Linked DNA regions of Homo sapiens: regions 1, 2, 3 and 4 are each linked to region 5. Evidence: promoter capture Hi-C in 16 types of primary human blood cells and fetal thymus (Javierre and others, 2016). All regions are on one chromosome and are shown on one strand. Each heading gives the region's core, a stretch centred on a gene start or on the middle of the fragment in contact. The rest is flanking DNA. Distances are from core to core; before and after follow the strand shown. Region 1 has its middle 180 kb from the start of PDE1C. Region 2 has its middle 72 kb from the start of LSM5. Region 3 overlaps LOC107986781 (a long non-coding RNA gene). Region 4 has its middle 140 kb from the start of PDE1C. Region 5 holds the start of PPP1R17 (protein phosphatase 1 regulatory subunit 17).

Evidence for each region. The method cuts DNA at HindIII sites, captures the fragments that hold promoters and counts their contacts. A CHiCAGO score of 5 or more calls a contact.
Region 1: a fragment that was not itself captured here is called in contact with the fragment with the promoter of PPP1R17 in region 5 in 1 of 17 cell types (neutrophils); the score reaches 5.2 in neutrophils.
Region 2: a contact is called between a fragment that was not itself captured here and the fragment with the promoter of PPP1R17 in region 5, in 1 of 17 cell types (neutrophils). The highest score is 5.1, in neutrophils.
Region 3: a fragment that was not itself captured here is called in contact with the fragment with the promoter of PPP1R17 in region 5 in 1 of 17 cell types (endothelial precursors); the score reaches 5.5 in endothelial precursors.
Region 4: a fragment that was not itself captured here is called in contact with the fragment with the promoter of PPP1R17 in region 5 in 1 of 17 cell types (endothelial precursors); the score reaches 5.8 in endothelial precursors.

What each region holds. Positions count from the first base shown.
Region 1 is chr7:32,250,759-32,254,854 of GRCh38, forward strand. It overlaps a transcript of PDE1C not described here. Among named protein-coding and RNA genes, the nearest start is that of PDE1C, 180 kb to the left of the region's middle. The HindIII fragment of the contact is 4,848 bases long and covers 52-4,096 here.
Region 2 is chr7:32,416,507-32,420,670 of GRCh38, forward strand. It overlaps a transcript of PDE1C not described here. Among named protein-coding and RNA genes, the nearest start is that of LSM5, 72 kb to the right of the region's middle. The HindIII fragment of the contact is 863 bases long and covers 1,846-2,708 here.
Region 3 is chr7:31,167,209-31,171,293 of GRCh38, forward strand. The region is part of intron 2 of LOC107986781 (a long non-coding RNA gene); the gene reads left to right. Among named protein-coding and RNA genes, the nearest start is that of ADCYAP1R1, 120 kb to the left of the region's middle. The HindIII fragment of the contact is 1,255 bases long and covers 1,452-2,706 here.
Region 4 is chr7:32,207,252-32,210,829 of GRCh38, forward strand. It overlaps a transcript of PDE1C not described here. Among named protein-coding and RNA genes, the nearest start is that of PDE1C, 140 kb to the left of the region's middle. The HindIII fragment of the contact is 1,180 bases long and covers 1,679-2,858 here.
Region 5 is chr7:31,684,824-31,688,939 of GRCh38, forward strand. It overlaps PPP1R17 (protein phosphatase 1 regulatory subunit 17), which reads left to right and starts at 2,392. Exons shown (of 5, transcript NM_006658.5): 1 at 2,392-2,483. It also overlaps a transcript of PDE1C not described here. The HindIII fragment of the contact is 9,056 bases long and covers 1-4,116 here.

The sequences.
Region 1 (4,096 bases), core at 1,226-3,725, 570 kb after region 5:
AACTATGAGACCTTTTCCTGCATGAAATCTGTTTCATAGTTAACCCAAATAAGCTTTTTACTAAAAGGAAATACCTCAAAGCCTGATTACAAGTTCAGGTTTGGCTGTAACACACCGCAAAGGCATCCTGTCATGGGCTTGCATTTCTGAATGGAATCATTCTGCTTCTTTTGATTGAAAAGGCGCATGATCTAATGCCAGATGGCGACATTTGTACAAGTCAAGCCGGATTAAGTCAGGAGCTCTAGTGAAGCATGATGCAGATAAAGAAAATGACGGATTATCAACACACACATGCGAGCGTGCACAAGCACAAGCGCGCGTGCGCACACACACACAAGGCTAATGCTAACTTCTTTAAACTGTGGCAACAGATTCCCTGTCACACTATCCCTGTTCCCTGGCCTTTGTCCCCAGCCTCTACCAGCTGGATACACTCCCACATTTGCTCACCTGCCACCGGGGTGTCCACAGTCCAGGCAGACCTAGACCTGAATCCGGCAGCCCAGGACTAGGCCCGTCATGTCCTCTCCCACCCTACTTTGACCTGCACGTTTGAAGCTGGGGTGGCCCACTCTAAACATAGCATAAGTGGCCTAGAGCTGCAACTCAGGCAAGGGCACCATCATCTACCCGGTTTTCCAGACCAGGCACCTTCGTCATCCTTCACTCCTTTTCCCTCGCCTTCCAAATCAATTCCATTACCAAGTCCTGTCAATTCCGCCTCTAGCCTGTCTGCGCCTTTCCAGCCACCACTTCCAGGATGATCCTAGTCCCTGTTCCAGCCACCATGCATCTTCTCTGGATTGCTGTCACCATTTCCTACCTGCTCTCCTGCCTCAAGAGTTGTCTCTCCCCACCCTGCCCCCTCACACAACCCCTGCACCTGCACAGTGCCTGGCTCAGAGGAGAATAATACACACACTGAATATCATCCATGAATAATAAACATCTCATTGAAATGTTCATAACCCTTTGCTCTTTCTCCATTCTCCATTTTCCACCATGTCTGCCCTTAAACCTTTGTAGCTCCCCCTTGCTTTTAAAGCTAAGTCCAAACTCCTTATGATTGCTGACAAAGGTTGGCCATGGCCATCAGCCCAGGGTGTCACCTGCTATTCCCCTCCTCACACTCAGGTCCAGCCACAGTGAGGTCCTTTTAGGTGAGATCTGGTCTGACAGTATCAATCAGATCTCCCCCTGTGGTTGTAAAGATGACTCAACTGATAGACAACCCTGAATATCTCCAGGGAGGGTTCCATTTTGCACCTCTCTATAGAGCCAGGATACTTAGTGGTTATGAATATTTTATGCAAATTTCAATTATTCAGGGACCAATAATCTAATTGTATATTACAAGATCACTTATGTCTCCTCCTCTCTGACCTGCTTACTTTTAGTCAACTCCTCCCTAATATAAGTATATAAACAATGCACAAACATATTTTCCAAAACAGTCTTCATTTGCTCACTCAGTAACTACTTCCTGACCATCTGCTCTGTGCCCAGCACTGCACAAGATCCCGGGACTATAAGGCACAAACCACAAGGCAGTCACAATATCTTCCCTCATGGAACATATATTCTAGTAGGAAGATGGGCTTTAACAACAAATCATACAATTAATTATTTGTTGATGATTTTGTAAAATATTATGAAGGAGAAGAACCAGGTGCAAGGAGAGCATATAGCTGTCTAGTCTGGGGGGAAAGGGATACTTTTTTGAGAAACTAACTGTGAGCTGAGACCTGAATGACAAGCAAGAATTAAATCCACAGCAAGGGCAGGCAAGGAGGAGGCATTCAGGCAGAGGGAACAGCATTTGCACAGGTCCACATGGAAGGAGGATGAATGTTTGAGGAGGCTACTGTGGCTGCAGCACAGAGGAGGGTGGGAGAGAACTAAAAAATCAATCCAGGAAGGCAGGGCCAGAGTCCTCAGGCCTCGCAGCCCAGTGCTGCTCAAACTATGTATTTGCAACGTGTCAAGGACTGACACTTTTGTGAAATACAATAAAAATGAGTTACTAGAAAATTGAAATTAAAAGACATACAAAATATGAGCCCAAATGTTTTACCACTAGTTTTAACACATATAAAATTATTCTACCAGTTACTGTAAAAGTTTTTAAATGCTTGACCTCTATTTGTGTCCCTTCTCATGGCCTAACCATAACAAACAGCTCATACACCAGCTCTTGAGACCATACTTTGAGTAGCACAGTGGACAGGAAGCCATCAAAGGGTTCTAAGCATAGGTGTAGCAAATTCAGAGTTGTGTTTTTCAAAGATCATTCTGGCTGCTGAATGGAGAATGGATTTGGGGTGGGAGGGGCAATTGGGGCTATTGGAGATGTCTTAGTGAGAGATCATGTATCTTAGAAAGAACAATATTTAATACTCGTGACAACCTATGAAGTAGGCATCAACATCTATTATAAAGTGGAAATTTAAGGTCATCCCCAGAAGTAGAATTCACATTTCCAAAAACAGTGAATCCAGACTCCCTGAAGCCTTATTTAAACGCAGTCCTTATTAAACACCACCTTATTGGTGACCTTATAACAAGATCTTTTTTGTTGCTTCTGTAAATAGCCTTTCTATGCCATTCACAGCTGTACTGGCCTTTACCGAAACCCCACAATGCTCCAACAGCCTTACGCGCCTTCCAGAGAATACAGCTGCCATTCTTCAAGCAAATGTCTCACAATGAATGAATCCCCAGAGGTAGAAAGAGAATCTGCTTATAATAGCCTGTTCTTTTCACTGCTCTCTCATCTCTCTTAAATGGATGGATTTCCAAAGGGTCCTGATTACTTTTAGGAGACAATTGAGTTTATGCAGCTGGGGAAAGAGAGGATTCAGGGAAAGCCAAGATGATTTCAGTCTAATTCAAATGAATATTTCTGTGGCATAAGCAATGTGCCAGGCATTGAGCTAGATATGGAGGTTACAGACATGGGGAGATGATGTATAAACAATAAAGGGCGCTGCTGCACAACAAACACAATACGCAGACACACACGTATAAGCAGAGCCCAGGAAAGGGAGTGTCCACTCTAAGGTCAGAGGACAGAGATCAGAGAATTTGATCAGAGATCAATGACTGTGATCAGAGATCAGTGACTGATTCACTTTTAAAATAGGAAAAGGGATTTTCCTAGGAGATAAGCCTGAGAACACCATCCTAGGGAGAGGGATCAGCATGACGCATTTGGAAAACGTAGGCAGCTCACTACTGAGAAAATGCATGGGAATGAGGGAAATGGAAGAAGGCAGGACAGGGACAGTGAATCCCAAAGGGTCTCATGCACCACTGAAACAATGAAATGAGGCGATACGGGGCGTATCAGAGGATCTGGACTGGGCTAGACTCCAAGAGTACATTTGAGGACAGGTTATTGTTGGCGCATTGTTGCAGGTGAAAGAGAACAAAAGAGTAGTTCTGTCCATATGACACTCCTCCATGGATACCTCTAGAAACAACAGGATGAGACTCTGAGGGAGCTGGAGGTCCTATGTTATGCAGGTGAGGACCAAGGCCAGTGACATTTGACTTGCTACTATGACCTCACTGGAACTGACAGGTCCAGGAAACAAGTCCCCTGCACATTCATGAGAAGGCACAGAACTTTGTGTGTTGGCCCTGGTGGAAAAAGCACAACTCTCCTCTATCAGACCTCCTGAGAGAGCAGGAAAACAACCCTCTCCCTTTTCCTCCATAACTTTAAAATGTAGCCAGAAAGCCCGATATCTTCCTTCACTGATGTCATCATATTCCAAAAGCAATAAATAAATGCAGTTTTCTAGGTAGATAATGAAGAGCAAGAGATTATAACATTTTCTCTACTATTCATCAGAGACAGCACCAACTTGGGGAAATCGATGCAGAGTAAGTGTGTATGTTTTTGTGTGTCTGTGTGTGTCATGTATGTGTATATGCATGTGTGTATATGAATGTGTACACACATGCCCAAGTGAGAGAGGAGAAGGCAGAGGAGATCTCAGAAACCCCTGCTACCAAGGAGTTATACTCCACTCCAAGAAGGGCTGCACTACTCAGGGGTCTAAGACCCTGCAATCAACTCTATGCTTCC
Region 2 (4,164 bases), core at 1,027-3,526, 730 kb after region 5:
TGACATGGTGGTTTTAATGTGGCCAATTTTTTTTTAAACTTGTGATTAAACTATACATACAATTTCATCAGCTAGCCTCATCCCCTGCCACCCACCCATTCCTGATTCTCATTCAGTCCACAGTCTCTTCAAGGTGTAGGGAAGGTGAGCATGGGATGACAGACAAGATGAAGCTCAGGGATGCTGTCAGGAATTGGGGCAGGTGAGAGATGGGGCAAGGCTCAGGCTCAGGATGGGGGTCTGCACACATCCTTTGGAAAAAGTGAAGAGTCTGGGGGTCAAGTCTGTATGGTTAAAACACACTTCTCTAAATCAGAACAGGTCTATGGGGAAATGAGTGCAGAGGAACGGGTATCATCTCAGTATGAGGAGAAATTGCCAACAGTAAAAAGCTGTGACCTTGGGAGAGATCGAGGGGCAACTCGCCAGTGGGTCTACAGAGGCCCAGAGTACCGCCACATATGGGAGCTAGCCATAAACACCCACCCCATGCCTGGCTCTCCCAGCCGACACATAGCACAGACTAAGGAGAACAACAATGCTTTTAAATGCTGCCACCTCCCTCAGAACAGACTAATCTAGCCTGTGTGCTCAAAAGGACCAAAGCTGCGAGAAGCATTTACCACGAGCTGAGCGGTCCCAGGGAGCATAGTCAGTTCTGTGGCACAGGCCCCAAACCAAGAAAAAGCTGGGTGCTCAGGGCACCCAGAAAAGCTGGTACAAAGCATGAGTGAATCCCAGTTGTAACTGATTTCTTTTAGAAAGTGATGACTTTTTTTTTTTTTTTAACCAGTGATAACTGCTTAGCCTTAGTGGTAAGGAAGCCCTACTAAAAACATCCCACTACTGCTAATAAAATCTCACATGTCTAATAATAAAAACACCTGTTGAGCACTGACTCTGTGCCCAGCACCATGCTGAGAGCTTTGCATTAAACCCTTAAACTCACAAACAACTCAATAAATGGAATTTTTTGCATCCCCATTTTACAGATGAGGAATCTGAAGTTCACAGGGTTCGAGTAACTTGCCCCATTAATCATGGGCAGAGCCCAGATTCTAACTCCATCTCTCTCACTGCAGAGCCTGCCCGTGTAACTATAAGCAATATTAACTCCCAGGGAAAAGTTCTATTTTTTTTTTGGTACTATAATCCCAATTTAGTAAAAAAAAAAAAAAAAAATCATACTGTGCACATAAAAAAGGAGAGGGTTATAAGCAAGCATCAAAGTATCTGTTGTATTAAGATGATGATCTTTTAGGCGCTTTCTTCATTTATCTCAAGTTTTTCTTGATATTGTAATTCTATTATTTTACTTGTATTTCAACTTTAACCAAACAGAAATCATGTGACTCAACGTAGTAATTTGAATGCTATCTCTTGTTGACCTATCAATTTATTTGCCAATTATATCTAGACTGCAACATTAAAATATTATAAAATGTACTTCTGGAAACTTGTGTTTTTGTTTGTTTGTTTTTGTTTTGTTTTGGTTTGGTTTTGAGACAGAATCTCACACTGTGACCTAGGCTAAAATGCAGTGGTATTTAGAGCTCACTGCAGCTTCAAACTCCTGGGCTCAAGTGATCCTCCAGCCTCAGCCTCCCAAAGTGCTGGGACTACAGATGTGAACCATCATGCCCAGCCTTACTTCTGGAAACTTCCTCAGTACTATGGTCTTCCCCACATACTATTTCTTTCCATGGCAGTAGCAAGTTGGCCAATTATTTTTTTATCAGCCTCAAGCTGCTACTGATGTCTCAGGCAGTTCAGCACAAGGCTTAAGACCTGGGTTCAAGTAAGACCCCCGTACTCACTAGATGTGCAACCTCAGATAATTCCCCAAGCTTCATTGTCCTCATCTAAGAAAAGGAGATAACAATGGCACTTACCTCTTAGTTTAATGCTGGTGCATGAAGTATGCCTGGCACAGGGTAAGTGCTCAATAAATGTTAACGTCTATTGTTCCTATGAAATATAATGATATGATTGTTTTATTTGCACTTTTTCAATCATTAAAAAAAGTCACTTTCCAAATAGCATCCTTGCGTGACAATAATCAGATATGGGAAGATACGGCAGCACACATTTCCAGATTAAGATTCACTTTTTCCTTCAGAACAGAGGCTTTATTTTTGAAGGGATGCCCTCATATTTGTAACATTTTTTGTCTCTTGGACCAGAAGAAGGTACTGAGTTATTAGGGTGTCAAAATCCAGGAAGTAATAAAGTCCCAAACAAACAAACAAACAAAAAATTAAAAATTAAAGTCCCAAAGAGCAGCCAGACAGGGCATGAAAAACTTTTTCCAAACTGCCCTGCATGTAATCTTCAAAGCAGCATGTAAATGAGGTCCACCCGACTCCTGGAGCATTTAAGCTGCAAGCAAAACCCACTCAGATACCAAGAAGAATAAATGAATCTGTTATGTGTGTACTGATCTAATGGCTTCTTTTTTCCCATTTTGTCTTCAGTTTTACTGAGGTCTCTTAGGAAGATCTCTGACATCAGTAAGGGAGCCCAGTACTCTGACTGGCAGAGGAAAAAATGGCAACCTGTTAGTTTAATTAACAAACTAAAATTAATAATTGGTTAAAATATTTTTTAAATATCTTTACTCAGGTTCAAGGAGTTTAAAGTGGAGGTGATATCTGAGATGGGCAAGTTTGAAATCTACAAGCTGGGGAGAAGAAAATACAGGGGAACAAAGCTTGGAAGAAAGAGCCTGTTACTGAATTTAGACTTCTACTTTAATTCATATATTGTTCAAGTTAACAATTTCCTAGTATCCTCCAGAATATTTATAAGACAGAACTTGCTAAAAAGAGTACTCAAAAAATAGTAGGTATAGAGAACAACAGAGAGAAAGAGAGAGAGCAAAAAAGCAGCCCCTCTAACTACTCCCTCCCTACCCGGAGAGTCTCCTTTGGAGGTTAACTTCAGCTCCCTCAGGAGAGTGAGCCCTTGGGGTATGGGGTGACCTCATTAGTAGCTTCACAAAAATCCAGTCATCTGAGAATAAACCTGAAATTAGTTACTGTTCTGGCAGTGAGTGGAGGGCACGGCAGGCTCCTGCTACTTCTAGACTAAAGAATGTTCCCAACCTTCCTGGCAGTGGCTGCCTAGCCCTGGGCTTCGGCTCCCTCCTTCTGGGAAATGACAATATTTTGCAACTTGGCCACATTTTTCCTTGGCTGAGAAGGAAAAACCCAGGGCTTTGCTGCTAACATAGATGCAAAAGAGCATGCCTCTTGCGCTCTTGGTGCTTGTGCTCCACCATGACAGCTTAGACACCACCAGTGCGGAGATGTAAGATGCACACACAGAGGCCAGGATCTGGTTCCTAATCCTAACTCATCCTGTCCGCTGTGTGACCAGAGCAAGTCCTGGCACTACTCTGAACCTCAGTTTCTTTATTTGTAAAAATGGGGTAATAGGCTGGGCATGGTGGCTCACACCTGTAATCCCAGCAGTTTGGGAGGTGGAGGTGGGCAGATCACCTGAGGTCAGGAGTTCAAGACCAGCCTGGCTAACATGTCAAAACCCTGTCTCTACTAAAAATACAAAAATAGCCAGGTGTGGTGGCATATATATATATATATATATATATATATATATACACACACACACACACACACACACACACACACACATATATATGTGTATATATATACACATATATATGTGTATATATATACATATATATGTATATATACATATATATGTATATATATGTGTATATATATACATGTGTATATATATGTGTATATATATACATGTGTATATATATGTGTATATATATACATGTGTATATATATGTGTATATATATATGTGTATATATATGTGTATATATATATGTGTATATATATGTGTATATATATATATACACACACACACACACACACACATATACACACACACATGTAATCCCAACTACTAGTGAGGCTCAGGCAGAAGAATCACTTGAACCCAGGAGGTGGAGGTTGCAGTCAACCGAGATGGTGCCACTGCACTCCAGCCTTGGCAACAGAGCAAGGCTCCATCTCAAAAAAAAAAGGGGGGGTGGTAATAATAGTGCTTGTCTTAGCTACCTCAAAGGTTTGTCGTGAGATTTGAGTAAGATTGTAATTGTTCAAGTAATGTGAAAACTGTGCAAATGCAAG
Region 3 (4,085 bases), core at 829-3,328, 520 kb before region 5:
CCCTATATATACTATGTTTCTTTCCTTGCACACATATCTATGATAACATTTAATTTATAAATTAAGCAAAGTAAGAGATTAACAAAATAATAAAATAGAACAATTTTAGCAATATACTGTAATAAAAGTTATGTGACTGTGGTCTCTCTTTCAAAATATCTTACTGTACTGTACTGTACCATAGGAAACTGAAATAGAGGAAAGCCAAACTGTGGATAAGGGGGGACTACTGTACTTCCATGTATTTAAAAAAGAAATCAACTTTATTGAAGATTAATTTACATACTTCCTTATATTTTGGCAGGTTTCCTTTCCCTCCTTTTTTCCTGATTATCATTATACTATATATTTATTGTAAAAATGCAAATAATTCAGAAATATAAGACAGAAAGTATAAAGTTTTAAAATTCTTTAAAAATCACTATTTGTTAGGTACTTACTATGTCCCATGTACTTGACATGTATATCCTCATTGATTTCTTGCAACAACTCTGTGAATGGAAATTATCATTCCTATTTTGTAGGATTTTTTAGGATTCTTCTAATCATTGCATTGGGTTGCACTGAACACTTGCTTAGCTGACCTGCGAGCTTTCTCACTTTGACTCTGTCCATTGGGGTCTTTTCTCCACATGATCTTTATTAGAACCTTTTTCCCCTCTTTGACTTCAGTTGTATCTCTTTTTTAAAGACATGTATGGTGAGGTACTCACTAGCTAATAAGCTTTATAAGAGCAAGAAGTAATATTGAGGCTGGGTGCAGTGGCTCATGCCTGTAATCCCAGCACTTTGGGAGACTGAGGTAGGCAGATCACTTGAGGTCAGGAGTTTGAGACCAGCCTGGCCAACATGGTGAAACCCCGTCTCTACTAAAAATACAAAAATTAGCAGGACGCGGTGGTGGGTGCCTGTAATCCCACCTACTCGGGAGGCTGAGGCAGGAGAATCACTTGAACCCGGGAGGTGAAGGTTGCAGTGAGCTGAGAGTTGAGATCACACCACTGTACTCCAGCCTGGACGACAGAGTGAGACTCTGTCTAAAAAAAAATAAAAAAAGTAATATTTACTTACATAGCTGCTGTGCCTACATAAGATTTTAATGAGCACAAAATGTGACATGGAGTTGTTAAGTGGTAAATCTTTATTGAATGAATGAATTAATGATTTTAGCTGGCAGCCTCTCTTTATGCATTCTCATTTGGTCTTATTAAAAAATATATAATTCGTTTGAAATGGACAATGTACACTGTTCCCCTGCTGAATTCAAGTCATGAGTTTCATACTAGTGATTGTTTACATAATAATTTACTAAAAATAGTAAGAGTTTAGGATTTTTTTATGTGCTCTTTGAAGAAGCCAAGTGTGTTTTTTTTTATGTATTAATGTTGATTTGTCCATCCTACTCTGTTTTTACCATTTCATGCGGGCACTTTCTCTCTTGCACAGTTTAAAGCTTTCTTGCTCTCTTCAGGAGTATATTGCCAAAAATTCCTTATCAGTTCTCGTTAGACACCCTCTGCCTTATGCTGGTAGTCATCATGTTGGCATTGTAAAATGTAGCTTAAAAGTCCAATCCAGTTGTTCACTTATTCCAACCTCTTCTTTCTTCCACAGTCAGAACCTTCATGGGGGAAAAAGAGTTGAAAACACCCCCTGAATCTCATTTGCTTTCCTCTTCAGGTCCCCTGGGGCTGTACTCCAGGTTTCCCTGGCTTTGCATTTGTTCTCTATGAAATTATGTAAGCAGGAACAGCCCCAGGTGCTTGGAATGCTTGGTGGCTTCCTTCATGTGTGGGTTTACACATGGTGACAGAAGAGGGCAGCTGCTGGGGCAGCAATTTTTGTCTCTCCAGGGTCTCCACATGGACACCTTGTTTCTCCTTTGGATCTTCATTGGCCCTGCAATGAGTCAAACTTGCTAAACCCTGTGCTTCCCTCTGCCCCAGCCACAATCTCAGATGGAGCCTGACTTCAAATCTCTCACTGGTTGGTGGTTTGACCTTGAAGTTGGTAGACCTTGTCTGATCACCTGGGAAATGTAAGTTACTTCAGAGAGAGAATCAGTGAATTGTGAGTTGTGGGATCACAAGTCTAAAAAAAAAAAGCAGCTACAGGAGTTAATTATGCTAGTGTTTCTCCACCCATTTTGTTGATGAAAGAGCTTCCACATCATTGCCTGTCAGTCTAAGCATTGAGGTAAAAGACTCTCCCTTTGAAAATAGTCATTATATGAAAGTCTGGGAACCAGTATCAATATTTATTAGGGGGCACACACCCATCCTGTCCTGTTGTATCACAGATTTATAGCACAACCGTTTATCCTGGACTCCCTAAGCTCTTTCAAGGATTGTGTTAAAATTAAACCTGTCAGCTGTTCCTTGGGAGGATAACAAACTTTTAGGCATTCCTGTAGCTGACTTGCCTGCAAATGTATGGAAGTAGTTTCTTTAAAAAAATCTCTACTTAGCAAAACATTTCTTCTTTCATTTCTTTTATTTCCTCTTCCCCTGTGGTTCCTGGTGATTGATATTTGAATGTAGAGTTCCTCTGGGAAAGCCTGACTTATTCTTCTGCAACTACATAGGTTGAAAGAGGAGGAGATGTATGTTGCCCATTGTGTGAAGGGAAAAACAGAAAGATTAGCAATCTCTAGAAGCTGTACCAGGAGGCATAATAAATGTACAACTGTGAAAGAAAGAAAAAATAAGCTTTCTTTTAAAAATATTAATTTTGGAGAAAGATTACGTCAATCAGGAACATTAACAGAAGCTCAACATCCAATGCGAGGAACAAAAACTGATTTGATGATCCATGTGAACTGAAATTAGTGTCAGGGTGGATTTAGAAAGAACTAGCACGAGCCGGGCATGGTGGCTCATGCCTGTAATCCCAGCACTTTGGGAAGCCGAGACAGGCAGATCACCTGAGGTCAGGAGTTTGAGACCAGCCTGGCCAACATGGTGAAACCCTGTCTCTACTAAAAATGCAAAAATTAGCCAGGTGTGTCAGGCACCTGTAATCCCAGCTACACAGGAGGCTGAGGCAGGAGAATTGCTTGAACCCGGGAGGTAGAGGTTGCAGTGAGCCGAGATCGTGCCACTGCACTTCAGCCTGGGCAACAGAGTGAGACTTTGTCTCAAAAAGAAAGAAAGAAAGAAAGAAAGAACTATTATCGTGACTTCTTCCTGAAGGGAAATGCAAGCATTAGTCAACAGCCAAGTGTGTTGAGCTGTATACAAGTCATAATTCTCACTTTGGAATCTCCTAGAATTTTCTGGGAATAAGCATATAAGGTGTTCTTTGTTGAATGAGCTATTGAGTGAGTGAATGAATGGAGTGAACAGAAGAAGGTTGATGATACATCTCTAACCTGTCAGACTGCCCCTGGAATATTGTGCTCAACCAAAGGACCACTTAGATGGTGAACAGTCTGGGCACTATGTTCTGTGGGAATTTTGAAGAAATAGGAGAACATTGGTTTTGAGAAGGGACATTTAAGGCTATGGAGGTACCTCATGGCTACATTCAGATATTTAAAGCCTTAATAGATTAAACAAAAACTGAGCGTAAACTCAGGGTTGGGCACCATGCATGATGCTGGGGCCACGTAGAGAAGAATATGAATATGTCTCTGCCTTCTGGACACTTTTCATGCTGATTCTACTCACTTCTAAGCAGCAAATTAGGAATAATGGTGGCAGGTATAAGAGAGAAAGATTTCAGTTTAATGAAAGAGGACCTGTCCTAAATTGGAAGGGGCTGCTTAGGAGTCTTTAGCGTAGGAGAACCATGAGACTTTAGCTGCTCATGAAAGTTATCACGATAAGGGAACTTAGAGGTCACATTGCAAGTATTCAGGAAAGACTGGATGATCCCTTGTTTGGGCTGTGCTTGGACGGAATTCTCAGTTCCCTTTCTCTTCTCACGAATATGTGTTTCTGAATCATAAGGTTTGAGAAAATAAAAGAGCACAGAATAGCCAAGTAATAAAGGATTCATAGTTTGAGTCAATTAAAGCATAAATAATAATTGTTAATTTTTCGAGAGCTTACCAAGTGCTTGAGATGTTGGGCAGTATCTATCCT
Region 4 (3,578 bases), core at 1,019-3,518, 520 kb after region 5:
AATCCCCGTCGTGCCTGATTCCGTACTGGGCAACGCACACTGTCAAGGCTGTCTTGTTGGACGCAAAAATTAGAGAATGTTGCAGTACTTCATCTTCCAGTCTCAAAAAAAAAAAAAAAAACTTATCATCCGAATCCTCCCAATCTTCCCAAACTGAACTCTTCATTCACACCACACAATGAAGGTCAGTTTCAAGGTGGTAAAGTGAAGTAAGCATCAATCGGACATTGCTACATTAAAAATAATTTTTTTGCCTTCCTAAAAGTCATCTAATCTTTCCCTCTCTAGACTACAAAAGGACTTAGTAGCTCACGTGCCATCTGACTTTTTCCGGAGTATGGCAATTAACTCAGGAGCTTTTTCGTTCTCCTTTTTTTTCCCTGTATCAGTCCAACCTAACTGGTTTGCCACTAATTACTTTTTCCTACACAGATACGTGTTCATCATGTCCTCACCTGTCTCAAGATAATAAGCTTTGAAGACACATCATCCTTTCAACCCAGTCATACAGTTGAGAAGTTCACACAAGAAGTTACCTTCCTTTCTCTGTGAAGGGACAAATTGCCTCAACTCTCATGCAAGGACCGCCCTCCCCCCAACCTTCGTCTGTCTTGTAGTGAGCCTCTGGGACTCCCATGGGGGAAGGGGCACCCAGCACAGCCCTCACAGCGTGGTTGGGTCACGATTCATGCTTATTTATTTGCCTGACAACTGCTCAGGAGATGAAGAAAAAAATGGGATAAAAGCATATTCTTCAACCTCGTTGAGCTGTGGGATGAAATATCTATTTTGCAAATAATGATTCCAGGTAGGAGGGCAGTGAGGAATGGGGCTCATGAGAAGCGAGTGTTTTATTACACAATTTCTAAAATATGAGCACTTCATGCTCTTTCATTATCGTACATTATTACAGTTCTATAAAAATCATTTCTAGGAAATCAATCCCAACGTTTCAAAGCCTTCCAAAAAGAGCTGGGAGGCAGAGTTTAGAAGAAGCCTGTAAATAGAGAAATTATACTTTCAGCTTTATGTAATAAGATTTACTATGGCACTGTCCACACTCAGACCTAGTCAACCCTGCATGAGGAATGCAGTGACTAGGGATTTATAGAGTTCCTCCCTGGCCACAATTTCAAAAGACAGCAACATTTTTGACTGACCTGGAAAAAAGTCAGATGGCACGTCAGCTACTAAGTCTTTTTGTAGTCAATACTAGAGAGGGAACGATGAGGTGACTTTTAGGAAGGCAAAAAAAAAAAAATTAATGTAACAATGTCCAATTTTGAACATTTTCCAGGTGCGAAGACAGAGGCCCAGATAGTGTGAGTGAAATTACTTTTAGTGAAAGCCAGTGAGGCAGTGATAAATCCGTTTCTATTTACAGTTGTACGATTTCTCCACCTGGTGCATAGTGGGTTTGGGGAGCGTCTCCACTCCACCCTCATCCGTCTCTAGTATTTTCCCCCCCCTTCTTTGGAATCCAGGTTTTCGTTCCAGGAAGTGCATTAACTTGCGGGATAATTTGCTGATCACACTGGTACAGAAACCATTGAGAGGCTTTAGACTCCTACTCATAGGGATCAAGACCTGGAGACAAAGGAGTCAAGGGAAGCCCCATGGCCTAACCACAGCCCTAGGAATATCCCCAATGCCTAAGGAAACCCATTCAATCCATCTAAGCTTCAAAGTGTCACCAAACTGAGGAAAAGCCAGTGGAGTTAGTCCATAAGTCCACTTTGAATGGTGATGATGCCTTCATAGCTACAAGCATTTCACGTACCTCTCCTCACTTTATCTTCATAAAACATTCATTGAAAGATTGAAAGGATAGTCCTAGCACAGCACTTCTCAAACTCTAATGTGAACAGGCATCCCCTGTAAATGTGTTAAAATACAAATTCTGACTCAATAGGTCTGAAGGGGTGGTCGGGGGACTGAGGCTTCATGGTTCTAAAAAGCCCCCAGGTGATGTCGATTCTGCTGCTCTGAGGACCATACTTGGAATAGCAAAGGCTTAGAGCACAATTTGGAAACCACAGTTCTAAGGATTGAAAAGGCAGTAGCAATGAGTAGCTCACCAGCCTGGGCTCAAGTGGGATGTTAACCAGATGATATTTCCTGCATTACTATTTTATTAACACCTGACAGAATTGAAGAGCTATACCGCATGGGGGAAAGATCTCTGGAGAACATTTTCTGATGGAGACCAGGAAAGGAGTGAAACAAGATTTACTCACGAGAGAAGCGGGCCAGTGGTCTGGCATTCTTGTCTCCAGCTTCATTTGCAACTAGAAAAAAAAAAGAGGATGCAATTTAAATAAATAAAGCAATGTGTCCACCAAATATGCCCCAATACAGCCAATCCCCTGGATGCTTTGACATCGGGCTGTATTTAAGAGTCTTTGTAAGTGAATAAAAGCAACTTTACTCCCTCCGTGTCTGTATTTCCAAGGCTGCCCTCAACACCTAAATGAAGTCAAATGTCTCAATCATTTTGATTAGAATATTTGGATGAAGCTAGAGAGGATCTCAACAACATCCAGTTTAGTAGGCCTAAAGAAGTTAATTGGCTTACATCCACTTAGTAAGAGGCACACACACCAGCTTCCAAGCTAGTGGACGTCCTTTGGCCCCAAGAGTCCTCTAACAGTGCTGTCTGTCAACATGCAAATGCACCCCAAGCATCGAAATGAATCTGGTTTCCTAGGATCCATAGGGGCAAAGCTGAGGCAGGAATTTCGGAAGATAAATAAAAAGCTGGCTTTATGTTCAGAAAGATATTAAATTTAGATGCTAACAAACAGGGAAGTTCATTAATAGAATTGTTCAGAAAACTGCCCTAGAAACCTTACCCCTAAAGCTTCTCAGCAGGGCAGGCTACCTCCTACGAAAAGTCTCCATATAACTTATCATTGGATAGAGTCATATTTAATGTCCCTTATAACTTATGAACCCATTGTATTGGGTAAAAGAGATTGGTTGTTAAGGGGAAACACAGGTTTCACTCATTTTAAATACCATGTTTCATGCCCATAAACATTATACCTTGGTTGTTGTATGTATACATAGCAGACAGACATGGGTATTTGTGATCTACTTGGATAAATGCCTAAAGCAATCAACAAGAAACACCTGTTCATTCTAGCTGAGAAAAAAGCATTCAATGCATCAACAGAATAAAGGAGATTGCTAACGTCATCATGAATGTATGAGAAGTTGCAGCAAAAGGACAAAACCAATACAGTAACTACTTTCTAAACTTATTATATCGTTTTACAAAGAATGAAAGAAGTCGAAAAATTTATTCCACCCTCTCACAAAGGTAAGTATTTTAAAATTTACTGCATTTGAGCAATTTTTTAAAAATTAATGGATTCCATCTCAGTATATTTTGTTTTTCTGGCATTAGCTTTGCCTCACCATCTACACTCTATTACTAATAAGGCCAATTACTAATTTGGGCAATTTGTCTATTACTAATTTGGGCAATTTTTAAAAATTAATAAATTACATCTTAGTATCTTTTGTTTTTCTGGGTATTAGCTTTGCTTTATCATCTGCACTCTTACTATATATTA
Region 5 (4,116 bases), core at 1,142-3,641:
ATGGGAAATGCTACAGCCGCTTTGGTGTTATTGTAAAAGGAAACATGCAATTGTCAGTAATTACTCTTCTGGGCATTATCCCAGAGAAATTAAAAATTATGTTCACGCAAAAGCCTCTCTACATGAATGTTCATAGCAGCTTTATTTGTAATAGCCAAACATTGGTAACAATCCAGGTGTATATACAAGATGTCACACCAACTGTGGTCCATTCTATGGAATACTATTCAGCAATGACAAAGAACAAATTATTGACACACACAACAACCTGAATGGATCTCTAGGGAATAATGCTGAGTGAAAAAAAAAAAGCCAAACCCAAAAGGCTACCTACTGTATTATTCCATTATTAAAACATTCTTGAATTGACAAAATTATAGAAATGGAGAATAGATTCATGGTTGCCGAGTTTAAAAAGTGATTGGGAGCAGGAGGTTAGGAAGGAACGGAGGGGGGCATGGCTATATAACGGCAAGATAAGGGAGGCTTGTGGTGACAGAAATGTTCTGTATATATTCATGTAAATATCAACATACTGGTTTTGATATTGTAGGATAGTTTCATAAGATGTTACCATTGGATATAACTGCTTACGTATAGGAGATCTCCCTGTATTATCCCTCACAACGACATGTAGATCTATTACCTCAAAACAGTTTAATTCAAAAGAAGAATTCAAGGATTTCAGAAGGAAAGTATATCTTTTCCACTCAAGTGTGGACTGAAGATGCTGCTAACTCATTGGCCAACAAGGCTGTTGTTAAGAAGATAAAGTAAGGCAGGGTTTAATGCCTAGGTGATGGGTTGATAGGTCCAGCAAACCACCATGGCACACGTTTACCTATGTAACAAACCTGCACGTCCTGCACATGTGTCCCAGCACTGAAAATAAAATAAAATTTAAAAAATGAAGAAGATAAAGCAGGCAGTTTTGAACACAGACCTGCTTCTAGGCCCTGTCCCTCAACATCTAGGGCCTTCCCTTCCTAGACAAGAGCATCACCTTTCAGCAACCCTCATCTCTTCCCAGGAGGTCCCAATAAGGATCAACACAAAATGGAACAGGCAAAGAAGTCCATTCTCTGCTTATCTGTTACCATGGCAAAAGTCTAACCCTAGGAGTCAACCTCTTGGTGAGTTTACTATGGTTCTAGCCCTGTTATTTGGGATCCTGGCAAGTGGGAGGGAGGCACCAACAAACACATTGCCAGTGGCAAGCAGGCAGTTGAAACCAAGGGGTTGCCAGGGACCTGCTCTGCAGGGAACCTCAGGTAAGACTGGAAAAAATATGGATGTGTGGATGGTGCTCACGTATCTTCTGTGAGAACATATTTCTTGGGCATCACTGGGTGGTCCATTGGCTGCTATCAGGGGGTCTGGAGCCCTTCTAGTGGGTCCTGATACCTACCTGATCTCCCAGACTGGCCTTCCTGCTTTGGAGTCAAAACTGCTGCTCCTCCAAACCCCAGTGGGCTCTCCTCCAGTGAGCAGACCCAAAACATAGAACCTTCCTCTCCAAAAGACAGCATGTCTCCCGCCTCTCCCACCTTGCTTAAACATCCACTCTTGAGTGCCTACGTATTCCTAATATTGGTACATTTGGCTTTGTTCCTTTGAAGGAGGAAATTTTTTCTGGCCTGCACACTATAACCTATAGAGTTGGGGGCTGCTTTCTTTGCTATGTGCTGTTTGAAATGCTCTCTTTGCTGAGAGGTATTGCAAAGTGGTTACAAGCGTGGACCCTAGCATTTCATTACCCCATTCAAACCCTAGCTTCACCATGTGGGGAGACCTTGGTCAGATGATTTGGTAACTCTTGAGCCCCAGCTTCCTCATCAATAAAATGGGATGATGACTGTAGCTCATCTCACAAGGTTGGCCTGAGGGTTAAGTAAGTAGATATGTGTGAAGTCTCTAGAAGAGTGTCTGGCATTTTGGTAGCCTTACATAAATGTTAGCAGTAGCTACCCTTCTCTTCCTCCTCATGATAGTACTTTGAGAAGCAGCAATAGTGATTGAAAGTACTCTGGATTTAAACTTAAATAGCTTTGAGAGTCGAAATTAGCTGTGGCCTCTCTTGGGCATATCACTTAACTTCTTGTGCCTCAGTTTCCATATTTACAAAATCAGGCCAAAAAAAATCTATCGCATGGGAATTCAATGATGTAGCTGGTTTGTCTGAATTTCTCTGGTGTGCACACCGGAAACTCAAAGCACGACTCTATACTGTACTTTTGTAATGTACAATGATTGCCGTGGAGAGCAGCGATGGAGATGTTAGTCCTCTTTCCTTCTCCATCCCCCTTGCCCTGGTGCCTGTGAAACAGAGCATCCCCATGGCAACAGCAGCAGCTGGTCCCTAGATAAGAGGAGCTGGAGCCGGCCAGCAGCAGCCACTGCCGCAGAGGAGCCAGGCCCAGCCTCGGTGAGCACACACGCCCTCCCTGTCTCTCGCCTTCGCTTCCCTGCATCTGCGCTGATTGGTAAGTGCTTCAGATTTTTACTCCAAGAACTTTTGTGGTGAGAAAAGCAAGTTTCCAGTCAGTTACTGGGACAAAGAAGGCTGTAGCTGGTGGCACGGGGTTGTGCTTTATGGAGCAAGGCTAAGCTGGGGCCGAGTGGACAGCAGAAAAAGTTACCACTTTCAAGTCATTCTTCCAAGGGAGGGAATGGAGTTCTGTAAAAGACTGAACCCTCACAAACTCATTTGCAAAGTTTCAAGATGAAGTTGGTGTATCTGCATATTCACACAGGATAGAGAGGTTTATCTTCCAAGGCTGGGGAAAGTACAGAAAGTATGCTTCTCAAAACACATTCTCCATGCCCTACTTTAAGTCAGTCTCTCCTCCAGGAATACTGCCAATTTAGGTTTTCTAAATGAACAAATCTGATTTTAAAAGACGGTACTTTTTGACCTGAATTCAATCCTCTGGTTAAAAAGAGGTTTGACAATGAATATGTATTTTACATAGCCAGAGGGTGCATTAACGAGATACCACATAGGCTGTGGATACAACCTTCTACCCTTTTATTCCATCCAGTAAATCAAGACCTGATTACTTTGGGGGATATTCTTCAGAATACCGTATGGTAAGCTAAGTGTCAACTCGCTTCTGAGAATCAGTTCTATTATGTTCCCAAGATTTAGAAATGGGTTGGTTTTTGTCTTGAACTATTCTCATCTCATTACCAGCTTCAGAGAAGGCCAGAGATGGGATAAAGAGATAATTCTGATAGATCAATTTAGATAGACATATAATCACAAATGGAGGACTGAAAGATCCAAGAAGGTCCCTCACACTCACGAAAATATCAGTGTGTAGGACCTGGGCTCGGGACTCCATGCACATTCTATGGGTAATACTCTCAACAACCCTGGAGAAGAGCCACTATCTTCCCCCATTTAACAGATTTGAAAACTAAATTTTTGAGAGAACAGATAACTGTCCCAAGTTCACCCAGCTAGAGAGTGGTACAAGCAGCCAAACGTTGGCTTCTACCTTATATTGACTCACAGCATCCAATCTTAAAGTTGAGAGGAATTTTCTTCCCATAATTTAAACCGCATATTCTCACATCCAACTGAGAAAACCGCTCAATGATAAGAGAAAAGACAAAAAATCCAGACCAGCTTCTGACCACACACTGAACCAACTAATGTGTTTCAGCTCCGCTGGTGTGCCTGCCTTTCTGCAATATAGTGGGGTCCCTTTTCTGGCACCCAGTTCCTTCCCCCTTTCAGTTCCTGTTCTCAAAAGAGAAGGTGACCTTTGTCATTAACAATCCCTGTGTATTGTGACATCAATTTACATATTGCTGCTCTTAGTGGTATTTGCATTTACAAGTATCTCTCTGTAAAAAGAAAGGTTTTGTCCCTTGTGAAAAGGAAGGTAAGGATTAGTAAGAGGAAGTTACAAGAGTTTAAAATCTGAAATCCTGAAATCCTTTCTCAAACCCTGAAATCATATCTCTTGGTCTCTTGCATACTACACTGAATACCTACATTCTGTCAAACAACCACAACCAGAAGAGTAATTCGATCAATACTCTTTCATTCTCTAATTAAGAAATCTGAAACATTTTGAAAACCAAAAGGTTTGTTGTTAAGTTCAACAC